Linked DNA regions of Homo sapiens: regions 1 and 2 are each linked to region 3. Evidence: promoter capture Hi-C in 16 types of primary human blood cells and fetal thymus (Javierre and others, 2016). All regions are on one chromosome and are shown on one strand. The core of a region is centred on a gene start or on the middle of the fragment in contact, and the rest is flanking DNA. Distances in the headings are between cores, read along the strand shown.

Region 1 (3,906 bases), core at 1,383-3,882, 260 kb after region 3:
TGAGTTCCGGTCCTGGGCTGCTTACTAGGGCATTTGGCAACTCACTCCATCTCTCCAGCCCTCCCTTTCCCCACCTGTAAAGTAAAGTTCTTTAAATTCTCTCTAACTCAGTGGTTTTTAACCAGGGGCAGTTTTATTCCCCTAGAAAACATTTAGTGATATCTGGAGACATTTTTTGGTTGTCACAACTGAGGGGAAGAGGGTGCTTCTGGCATCTAGTAGGTAGAGGCTAGATACGCTGTTAAACATGCTGCAATGCTTAGGATGCCCTCAACGTCAAAGAATTATCCAGCCCAGATGTCAATAGTGCTGAAGGTGAAAAACCTTATTCTTAGCTCTAAAATTCTGTGATTCTTGCCAAGCAGAGAAGTCAGTCTGAATCTGGGATGCTGGAAATACTTGATTTCTATAAACTTGGTTAGTGGTGCTTCTCCTAACACAAAGATTCTGCCATTAGACTTCCCTCAGGTTGTTGTAGGGACCCGTCACTGGTAAATGTGTGTCACCCACACAGCAGCCACGTTAGAGGAGTGACCACAAATTCTTCTAAATGTCTAGCTTAAGCCCCTCTTGATTCAATTCATCCTGCCTTGACATGATTTACGGAACTAAAGCAAGCACGTGAAGATGGTGTGCTTGGGGTTTTGGTCAGTAGGAGCTAGACTTTTACCCCTCAAGTCTTGGTAGAGGGGGTGCTTTGCATAGATCCATTCCCATTCATTTCCTTTGTGCCCTATGTCTGAGGACATACAGCTGTGAGATGGAGACATAGGAGTGCTCTATGTCCACCCATGTCTTCATCCATCCATTCGTTCACTCAACATTTATTGAGCACCCACTGTGAGCTTAATCCATAGTCCAGGTACTCTGCTCCTTGTGCTGGCCACAGAGCAGTGAGTTAGACAAACATCGCAGGGCCAATGGAAACCACACACTAGTTGGGGAGCGGGTAATAAACAAGTAATCATGGTACAATTTACTTCTACAGTCAAGAGCCCTCTCTCTATGGAAGGTCGTTTATTTATTTATTATTTTTTTGAGACAGAATCTTGTTCTGTCGCCCAGGCTGGAGTGCAGTGGCACCATCTCACCTCACTGCAATCTCTGCCTCCCGGGTTCAAGTGATTCTTCTTCCTCAGCCTCCAGAGTAGCTGGGATGACAGGCGCCTGCCACCGTGCCTGGCTAATTTTTGTATTTTTAGTAGAGACGGGGTTTCACCATGTTGGCCAGGCTGGTCTCGAACTCCTGACCTCAAGTGATCCACCTGCCTCGGCCTCCCAAAGTGTTGGGATTACAGGAGTGAGCCACCACTCCCGACCAAGAAGACAGTTTATTTTGCCCTAATATTGGCTAAGGGAATCTTCCCAGATATTCTAGCAGAGGAGATTACAGACCTTACACTTCTGCTGCAGAAAATCACAAAATTTTTAGACTCTCCCTGGAAAGCTTGGGGCTGCAGCCTTGCTCCTCCCGCCTGTCCCCTTTCTGCAGCCCACCTGCTGCCCAAGGGTGCTGTGCATTCCGTCCTGGGGATCCAGAGGAAAAGGGGCTTTGTGGGGAGAGGAGGCAGGGATAAAGGAAAGTGCTAAGGCCCAGCCAATTCCTCCTAGGCTTGTAAAATTCCAGGGCTGAGTCCAAGTTCCCAAAATAGAAGTGAAGGGAGAGCAAACTTCCTGGCTGTGGTGGAGCCCCTGATGTGTTGAATGAAGCTGTTGGTTTGCAGGGTCTGGGAGGGTGTGTATGGGAGATGGGGGGGTCAGGGGGTGGTGGGGAGGGGCCTGAGTGACCAGAGGTGACCAAGATCCTGGGGGACAGACAGCACCTGGAGTGGTGACCACAGCTGCAGGAGCGGCAAGACTCCCAACACTCCATGCTTGGCGGTCACTTCTTTCTTTAGAAAGAGATATTTTGCTTTCTGTGGGCTTGAGAAAGCAGCAAATGACTGCACAGTCATGGGCTGTGCAGGGCCATTGTGACATGTTTGTCCTGTGGGGGCAGCGAGTATTTGTGGATGTGGGTGGGGGTGTGGACGCTTCGTGTCCACTGGCAGCCTGAAAATGAGGAGCGTGCGCCTGGATGAATGTCTGCTCTAAACTCAACTGCTTGTTTATTCAATGTCCTTAAAAAGGCTCTTAGTTCATCAGCAGTGTATTAAAAGTGTATAGTTCAACAATGAGCTTTTTGTTTAGATATCTTGTTTCGCAGTTTCTTAGGTTCAGTAAACACATTTTTTAAAATGTCTTAATTGTCTCATGAAGATATCTGACACAGTTAAATAAAAACAAGTGTTAGATTAAAAAGCCATGTAACTGCCCAACAGGTTCACCTTATCCATTGCCTAAACAGAGCCGATTAATCAAGACAGGGGAATTGCAATAGAGAAAGGGTAATTTATGCAGAGCTGGCTGTGCAGGAGAATGGAGTTTTATTATTACTCAAATCAGTTTCCCCAAAAACTCGGGGATCAGAGTTTTTAAGGATAATTTGGTGGGTAGGGGGCTAGTGAATTGGGAGTATTGATTGGTTGGCTCCGCAATGAAATGACAGAGCGTCAAAGCTGTTCTCTTCTGCTGAGTCAGTTCCTGGGTGGGGGCCACAGAACTGGTTAGCAGGTCCAGGTGGGGCCATCCAGTTGTTAGAAATGCACCTGAAAACTCATCTCAAAAGGCCAATCTTAGATTCACAATAGTGATGTTACCTCCAAAAGTAACTGGGGAAGTTGCAAATCTTATCACCTCTGGAATAATGGCTGGTAATATTTAGAATTCCAGCCCTTCTCTTCCTGACTTGGTGGCTGGTGGCCTGTCATTTGTTTTATAAGAATAGTTTAGCCTTTTAGGAAGGGCTATTATTTAAACTATAAACTAAATTCCTTCCCAAAGCTGGTTCTGACTATGTCCAGGAATGAACAAGGACCGTTTAGAGGTTGGAAGCAAGATGGTGTCAGTTAGGTCTGGTATCTTTCACTGTCATAATTTTCTCAGTTGTGATTTTTGCAAAGGCAGTTTCAGCCAAGGCAGCCCTGCAGAATGAATGGACAGGAGACATTCGCCTGAATTACCCGGGCATTGACAAGTTCTCTAGGTTCACTCTTGGATTTGCAAATCACTTGCTGTGTGAATTTGGGGCAGTCTCTTCCTCCCAGTGTGCCTCAGTTTCCTTCTTTATTGGTTCATTCTATAAACATGATTTCAGTTGAAACATGCTAAAAGAATTGAAAAAAAAAAATCAAACAGACTGTATGTGCACAACCCTAACACCCAGGGGCTGCCTTCTTGTACTTAACTAGCAGTCCCTCGGGGGTACTGTTAGCTGAAATGCTAGTGAAATGACCGCTCTCCACAGATAAGGAATAGCTGATTGTTCCTCCCAGCCAGCGCTGGATTCCCTGGAACCATTCACATTCTCTTTTCCTCCTTCCTTTGGAATATACAGACATATGCCTAGCATGCTGCCTGGTATGGAGCCAGCTCTCAGCCAACACGTCTGAGTGAAGCTGCATTGGGCACACACCCGCGTGGGGCAGTGTGAGGCTGGCACTGCAGGCCACCCCAGGCAGATGCCTTCCTGCTGGCACTGACTGAAGGCCTGAGGGATTCCCTGGGCAAAGCCAGAGAATCAAATGGCCCCTATATGAGATGTTTTCTCCCATTGGAAACTAAGTCATTTTGTCACTTGTCCCAACCTTCCTCTTCTCAATCTTAAATACAGCTTGTGCCTTTGGCTTACGTATTTCTTTGCATTGGCTCGGCATGGCTCATAAACGTCCAAGGGTAGGGTCATATGTGTCAGACATGCTGCTAGTTTCTCATCCCACAAAGCTTCAATATGAGCTGGGTATGACCTCCCTCTTGGTATCAAGGAGGCTAGTATCAGAGAATTCGAGCAGCTAGTTCAAAGTCAAA
Region 2 (3,876 bases), core at 1,161-3,660, 290 kb after region 3:
TTCTAGTCGGAGCCTCAGTTTCCTGATCTGTGAAATGGGGAGGTGACCACTCTTTACATTATCTAGTCATGTGAATTCAATGAGATGATTTAGGTAAATTCTCTAGAATGGAGCCTGGCAAGTAGAAGGTGCCCAATTAATGCTTCTTTTTTTCTTCCTTCTTGGCAGAGACGATCCATTTGCTTACCAAAGATGCTGCCATCAGCTATCACAGAGGGCTAGAGTACTCCTTTGCTTTCAGCTGGAGGGAAAAGCTTCTTACTCTTTTTTCCCATTCAGAAGGAAGAGGGATGAGGGAGGGCGGAGAACAATATTTTCAGTGCTGTGAGTTTCTTTCTGCTGGTGTATAGTCTCAGGCTGGAACAGCTCCTTAAGGCCATACATTTAGTTTCCCTCAATTTAAACATAAAGAGCTAAAACTAGAAATCCTCTAGAAGAAAACATCTTCATGATCTTGGTGTAGGCAAATGTTTCCTAGGCAGGATACAAGAACACAAACCATAAAATAAATAGATAAATTGGACTTCATCAAAATGTCAAACTTTCTGATTGTTAATAAAATGAAAAGGCAAACCACAGAGTGTGAGAAAATAATAGCAATACATATATCTGATAAAGAATTGTACCTGAATACATAAAACATGCCTACAAATAAATACTAAAAAGACAAGCAACTCAGTTAAAATGAGCACAAATCTTGAACAGACACTCCATAAAAGAAGATATATGAATGGCTAATAAGCATGTTAAGAGGTACTCAGCATATTAGTCATTAGGGAAATGCAAATGAAACTACTATGAGCTACCACTTCACACCCAATAGGATGGCTAAAATGCAAAAGACTGACCATATCAAGTGTTGACAAGGATGTGGAGCAACTGGAACCTCATACATAGCTGGGAGAAGTATAAAATGTTACCATTATTTTAGAAAACAGCTTGGTGGTTTCTTTCACAGGTGATATGGTTTGGCTGTGTCCCCACCCAAATCTCATCTTGAATTCCCATGTGTTGTGGGAGGCACCCAGTGAAAGGTAATTGAATCATGGAGGCAGGTCTTTCCCATGCTGTTCTCGTGATAGCAAATGAGTCTCACAAGATCTGATGGTATTATAAGGGAGAGTTTCCCTGAAAAGCTCTTTTCTCTTGTCTGCCACCATCTAAGATGTGACTTTCACCTTCTGCCGTGATTGTGAGGCCTCCCCAACCACATGGAACTGTGAGTCCAATAAACCTTCTTTTGTAAACTGCCCAGTCCGGGTATGTCTTTATCAGCAGTGTGAAAATGGACTAATACAGTAAATTGATATCAGTAGAGTGGGGTGCTGCTGAACAGATACCCAAAAATGTGGAAGCAACTTTGGAACTGGGTAACAGGCAGGGGTTGGAACAGTTTGGAGGGCTCAGAAGAAGACAGGAAAATGTACAAAAGTTTGGAACTTCCTAGAGACTTGTTGAATGGCTTTGCCCAAAATGCTAATAGCGATATGGACAATTAAGTCCAGGCTGAGGTGGTCCCAGATGGAAATGAGAAACTTGTTGGGAACTGGAGCAAAGGTGGCTCTTGCTATGTTTTAGCAAAGAGACTGGTGGCATTTTGTCCTTGCCCTAGAGATCTGTGGAACTTTGAACTTGAGAGAGATGATTTAGGGTATCTGGCAGAAGAAATTTCTAAGCAGCAAAGTATTCAAGAGGTGACTTGAGTGCTGTTAAAGGCATTCAGTTTTATAAGGCAAGCAGAGCATACAAGTTCAGGAAATTTGCCACTTGATAATGAGATAGAAAAGAAAATCCCATTTTCTAAGGAGAAATTCAAGCCCGCTGCAGAAATTTGCATAAGTAACGAGAAGCCAAATGTTAATCCCCAAGACAATGGGGAAAATGTCTCCAGGGCATGTCAGAGGTCTTCATGGCAGCCCCTCCCATCACAGGCCTAGAAGCCTGGAAGGAAAAAGTGGTTTCATGGGCTGGGCTCAGGTTCCCCATGTTGTGTGCAGCTTAGGGACTTGGTCCCAGCTGCTTCAGCTGTGGCTGAAAGGGACCAATGTAGAGCTCGGGCCGTGGCTTCAGAGGGTGCAAGCCTCAAGCCTTGGCAGCTGCCACATGGTTTTGAGCCTGCGAGTGCACTGAAGTCAAGAATTGAGGTTTCGGGAACCTCTGCCTAGATTTCAGAGGATGTGTGGAAACACCTGGATGTCCAGGCAGAAGTTTGCTGCAGGGGCAGGGCTCTCATGGGGAACCTCTGCTAGGGCAGTGCAGAAGGGAAATGTGGGGTCAGAACCCCCACAGAGAGTCCCTCCTGAAGTACCACCTAGTGAAGCTGTGAGAAGAGGGCCACTGTCCTCCAGACCCCAGAATGGTAGATCCACTGACAGCTTGTACTGTGTGTCTGGAAAAGCTGCAGACACTCAATGCCAGCCCATGAAAGCAGCTGGGAGAGAGGCCGTACACTGCAAAGCCACAGGGGCAGAGCTGCCCAAGACCATGGGAACCTACCTCTTGCATCAGCGTGATCTGGATGTGAGACATGGAGTTAAAGGAGATCATTTTGGAGCTTTAAGATTTGACCACCCTGTTGGATTTCAGACTTGCATGGGTCCTGTAACCCCTTAATTTTGGCCAATTTCTCCCATTTGGAATGGCTGTATTTACCCAATGCCTGTATTCTCATTGTATCTAGGAAGTAACTAACTTGCTTTTGATTTTACAGGCTCATAGGCAGAAGGGACTTGCCTGGTCTCAGATGAGACATTAGACTCTGGACTTTTCAGTTAATGCTAAAATGAGTTAAGACTTTGGGGGACTGTTGGGAAGGCATGATTGTCTTTGAAATGTGAGGACATGAAATTTGGGAGGGGCCAGGGGCAGAATGTTATGGTTTGGCTGTGTCCCCACCCAAATTTCATCTTGAATTTCCATGTGTTGTGGGAGGGACCTAGTGAAAGGTAATTGAATCGTAGGGTCACGTCTTTCCTGTGCTGTTCTCATGATAGCAAATGAGTCTCATGAGATCTGATGGTGTAGTAAGGGGGAGTTTCCCTGCACAAGCTCTCTTCTCTTGTCTGCCGCCATGTGAGACATGCCTTTCACCTTCCACCATGATTGTGAGGCCTCCCCAGCCACATGGAACTGTAAGTCCAACAAACCTCTTTCTTTTTTTTTTTTTTTTGAGATGAAGTCTTGCTCTGTTGCCCAGGCTGCAGTGCAGATTGTGCAGTGGCACAATCTCAGCTCACTGCAACCTCCGCCTCCTGGGTTCAAGTGATCCTCCTGCCTCAGCCCCCCTAGTAGATGGGATTACAGGCACATGCCACCATGCCTGGCTAATTTTTGTATTTTTAGTAGAGACGGGGTTTCGCCATGTTGGCCAGGCTGGTCTCAAACTCTTGACCTCAGGTGATCCACACACCTCAGCCTCCCAAAATGCTGGGACTACAGGTGTGAACCACCGTGCCTGGCCTATAAACCTCTTTCTTTTGTAAATCGCCCAGTCTCAGGTATGCCTTTATCAACAGCATGAAAACAGACTAATACAACAGGAAAACATACACCTACCTTATGACCTGGCAATTTTACTCCTACATATTTATCCAAGAGAAAGGAAAACATGTCCACAAAAAGATTTGTAAATGAATGGACATAGTAACTTTATTTCTAATAGCTAAAAACTGGAAACAACCCAGGTGTCCCTCAACAGGAGACTGGATAAATTGTAATATATCCACACTGCAATAAAAAGGAAAACTCACTGATATTATAATATCCTGGAAGCATCTCAAAAAATTATGTTACGTAAAGGAAGACAGATGCAAAATGTTGATTGAATGATTCCATTGATGTGAAGTTCTAGAGCAGCCAAAATCAATCTATGTTGAT
Region 3 (4,023 bases), core at 348-2,847:
CTTGCCGCTATGTGAATCAGTTATTTCAAGTATCACCACAAATGGACTACTAACCTTCCCAATGGGAGAAAACCCAAACGCGTGACCTTTTACTTCACTTAGAGTTGATGTTATGCCCTCTAAGTACAGACTTTCTACACGATATCCATTCCTCATTTTCTTCTACTGTAATCCTATCTCCATATATTGCAATGTATGGCCTTTTGCTGGCAAAAGGAGAAAAAAAGAAAAATGTATGTATTATACCATTCCTTTTTAAAAAGGCAAAGAAAGGGCTTGGTGTGCAAGAGAGTATTTATTAAACACTGGTAGCAAAGAAAACAAACAAAAAATGCAACAGTCCTCATTACTGTAGCTGGTGTTGAAGCTTCTTTCTTCTGGGCCCATTCCATAGTTCCCTGTGACTTCAGTTAGCATCTCAGTTGGTTGGGGTGATTTGCTCAATGCAGCAACCTGAGGGGTATGATCCCTTGTGGTCCTGCCTTTATAGGGTTGTGGTAGCCGTCTATTGCCTTTACATCTGGGTATGGCAGTTCAAGAAAGCACCCTCAAGGATAAAACATGCTATTCATGATGTATTATTTTTCTTTGATGACTAGGACAATCCCCCTAGTCAACCCCATGACTCACTGTTTTGTCTATTCCCTTAGATGACCCCACGGATTCCGTTGCACGGAGTCTCTGAAGTCCAAAATTTTTAAGCATAGGGCACAACGTTCTTCATGATTTGGCCTTGTCTCTTCTCATTATGCTTGCTCTTGCATCTGCCATCTGACACTTTGCTTAACTCCTGGCCAGCTACCGGTACAAGCCAAGCTCTCACTCCATAACGTCCTTCTTCTCTGCATGCCCTTCTCCACTGTGCCTGTCCTTTAACTCTTATTCATCATTTATTTCAGTCTCAATTGAAGAGTCATTATTTCTAGAAAGCCTTCTCCGCCCAGCTCTCTACATTGCACCGTTCCCTACAGCACCACCAGAGTGCCTCTAACACTTGATGGTTTCATTGCTTATATATTTTTGTTTCTGTGCATAAGCCTCCCGAGGGAGCCGCCGCTGTTCGATTTATTCTATAGCTAGTTCCTCGCCCTGAGTGTAAGCCTCACGAGAGTGGGGCTGTCCTCTGTTCGCTCTATCCCCAGCCCCTACAGCAGTGCCTGGTTGTTCACAGGCCTATATAGCAGGTGATAATAATCTGAATAATGAAAGAAGAAACACTGTCTTGTGGCGTGATTTACTTCTGTTTTTACTTATGTCAACTTTTAACTAGATTGTGAGGACAGAGGTCAGTGTCTGAGTCATCTTGTGCCTCACTGGGCTTGGGCAGAATAGACGCTTGGTCAAGCATTTGCACACTGGTCGATGGATACACTAGAAAGAGCAGGAGCGCGAGAGGGAATTTTTTTGGCGCCTGCCTCGCCCTTTCAAGCCAAGCCCCTCTGCCCTCTGCCCCTTGCCAGCCGCCCGTCGCCCGCCGCCGGCGATCCCTCTCCCGGGGAGCGGTAGTCAAGCGAGGCCAGCGGGCCGGGAGCGGGCCGGGAGCGGGCGAGGGGCGGGACTTCCGGTCCCGCTCGCGACGCGGACCGCGCCAGGCGGAAGCCCGGCTCCGGGCCAGCATCCGAGAGCCCGGACTGGAGGTGAGTTCGCAGCCGGAACGTTGCAGGCACTTGTTTCCTCAGTGGATGCCTTTCGGCGCGCCGCCGCCCGGCGCCGCGGGACTGGGAGACCGGGTAGGGACGGGAGAGTCGGCATCTCCCGCGCGTGTGGAGGGAAATCCGGGACCCCAGGCTTGAGAGAAGGGCCAGGACTGAGAACGGGGAACCAGGAGAGCCCTAAGGGCAGCCTTTAGGGACTGAGGAGGGAGGCACCGGGGACCCTGAGGCCAAAGAGGCCCTGAGACTGGAGGTTGCGGATGACACGGGGCAGAGTTGCATCTCGGAGGAAAGTAGTCATTCGTGGGGGCGTGTCCCGGGTCCTGGCGGATTGACTGAGAGGATGGCAGGAGATGGCAAAGGTTGGCTTCCAGGGAGAGGTTACAGAGGAGGGAGTCAGTCCTTCTCTGAGGGTCGTAGGTGAGAAGGACGTCTTGACCTAACGAACCAGAAAGATGACCAGCCACCTATTGGATGCTGAACTCCTATTGCTTCATTTGCAATTCATGCAGTTTGTTTTTTGTTTTTAGAAATATATCCCGCTCCGCGCGTGTGGATTTCGGGAAAATATTGTATATTCCTAGGGACCGCTCGAATTCTTGCTTCACCCAGATTCTGCGTGTCTTTGTCAAACTGATAGTAGTTGAGAGTTCTCTTCACCCAAGGAAGACAACCAAAGTTTTCCTTTTGGACTCTTCTCTACCCTGCAGAGTTTAGCTTGTCTTATTTCCCTTGTCATGGGATGAACTAAATGCGTTCAGAATTATGGTGATAATCACATGGAAAGCCAGTGCTGTCAATGTTTGCAGTTTCAACTCATTGTTTTTCTGTCCAACTTTCTAACACATTTTTTCTAAAAGCTATTTTGTTGGGTTTAGTCTTTTAGTTTAACCAATAAAGGCAATTTTACATCAGGGTGCAGCAAATTACTAGCAGTTCTTAAGATTTTACTGTTCCTTTTTATTTCTGCTGTAAGGAAATATATATATATATATATATATATATATATAAATATTTGCCATTGTCAGTGTTTTTTAAAAATATTGATAACCCAAGATCTGTTGTTACACGCACATTAGCACATTTAGTTTTCCCCAGTGGCCAGTGTTTGGTATGTGGGCTCATTATTATTACCAAAGGTAATTATTGATTTAGTTATTATTTACCTTGCATTTATGTTTTATTGGATGTGATTAATATGTGCTTCCTAATCTACATAATATAGTGTTTCACTCAGTGTAATTACAAAGATTCTCCTAGCTTTTAAGTAGGTAGTAAGTGAATTGGATTTTTGCCACAAAGTGAGCAAGGTAGCTAGGAAGAATCATAACACTGTCACTGATGGAGGGTGAGATCTGATGATTGCTTTGCTTGTTTCAGGTGTTTCACATTTCAAATGTTAGAAGTTTTTGTTTTAAAAATTACTGTATTAGTACAGGTAACTTTTAGATCTGATTTGGTGGTCTGACTTGAACTAATTCAGGAAAACTAGAACATTTTATATTTATTGGTACTGCGATATCTTGCTAGCTTATAAATTCTTGATGGCCTTGAATATCTGTGCTTGAGTGAAATACACAGTTATAACGTCCTTATGTTTAGGAGGACTGCTGATATTTACAAGTGTAAAGCAAGGCCTAAACATAAACAGTGCCTTAACATGTAAATGAGCATATTGAATAAGTTTTCAAATTACAAAATGAAGAGATAACACTGATCTCTAAAGTAATTGAATTAACTGCCATGTTAATTTCTGTATATGTCTCAATTTAATCTTATTTGTTTAAGTAGACAATATTGTTTATCTGATAAGACTTGATTTTATTTTTCTTCCGCCTTTTCCCATGGTTTTTGAGAAATAAAGCACTTGAGAAAGCATGCAAGTCTTTAGACATTAGTTCATGGTTGGAGGAAGTGCTCGTTGTTGAAACACAAGAGCACTTGCCCTCTTGGGCAAGTTGGGCTAGCTATATATATGAATGGTATGTTGAGGTTGGATTGCCCTGTATTCCGGAAAATCTTTGGAATTGTATTCTTTCTTCTAATTGTTTAGTAAATTTAGCTTTCTCTCTAGATAAATTATTTTTGTTATTCCGTAGGATTTAGATGTATTTTACAGTTTAACCAATAATGGCAGTTTTTGATTAAGTACAGCGAACTGCTGGCTATTTTATAGATTCACTATTTCTTTTTATTTCTGAAATATGTACAGTGTCTGTATTGGAAGAACTATCAAAATAGTGATAACCAAAACACTGTCTTCATATACACATACATTTGTCTTCCTTAATCTCTAGTTTGTAAAATACGAAATAATTTGCTAAGTTGAGCTCGTTGCTTCTATGCCCTTTGGTTATCAATTTTCTGATTA

Evidence for each region. Contacts are between HindIII fragments. The CHiCAGO score rates a contact against its expected background, and 5 or more counts as called.
Region 1: a contact is called between a fragment that was not itself captured here and the fragment with the promoter of DISP1 in region 3, in 5 of 17 cell types (endothelial precursors, megakaryocytes, total B cells and 2 more). The highest score is 9.4, in endothelial precursors.
Region 2: a contact is called between a fragment that was not itself captured here and the fragment with the promoter of DISP1 in region 3, in 2 of 17 cell types (endothelial precursors and megakaryocytes). The highest score is 6.4, in endothelial precursors.

What each region holds. Positions count from the first base shown.
Region 1 is chr1:223,073,083-223,076,988 of GRCh38, forward strand. LOC124904521 (a long non-coding RNA gene) reads right to left here and starts at 1,911. Exons shown (of 2, transcript XR_007066891.1): 1 at 1,824-1,911. The HindIII fragment of the contact is 2,375 bases long and covers 1,446-3,820 here.
Region 2 is chr1:223,098,503-223,102,378 of GRCh38, forward strand. LOC107985323 (a long non-coding RNA gene) reads right to left here. Exons shown (of 3, transcript XR_001738491.2): 2 at 188-474. Among named protein-coding and RNA genes, the nearest start is that of TLR5, 43 kb to the right of the region's middle. The HindIII fragment of the contact is 4,316 bases long and covers 253-3,876 here.
Region 3 is chr1:222,813,442-222,817,464 of GRCh38, forward strand. It overlaps DISP1 (dispatched RND transporter family member 1), which reads left to right and starts at 1,598. Exons shown (of 9, transcript NM_001377229.1): 1 at 1,598-1,637. RefSeq lists an enhancer at 989-1,048 and silencers at 1,289-1,368, 1,459-1,558. The HindIII fragment of the contact is 6,781 bases long and covers 366-4,023 here.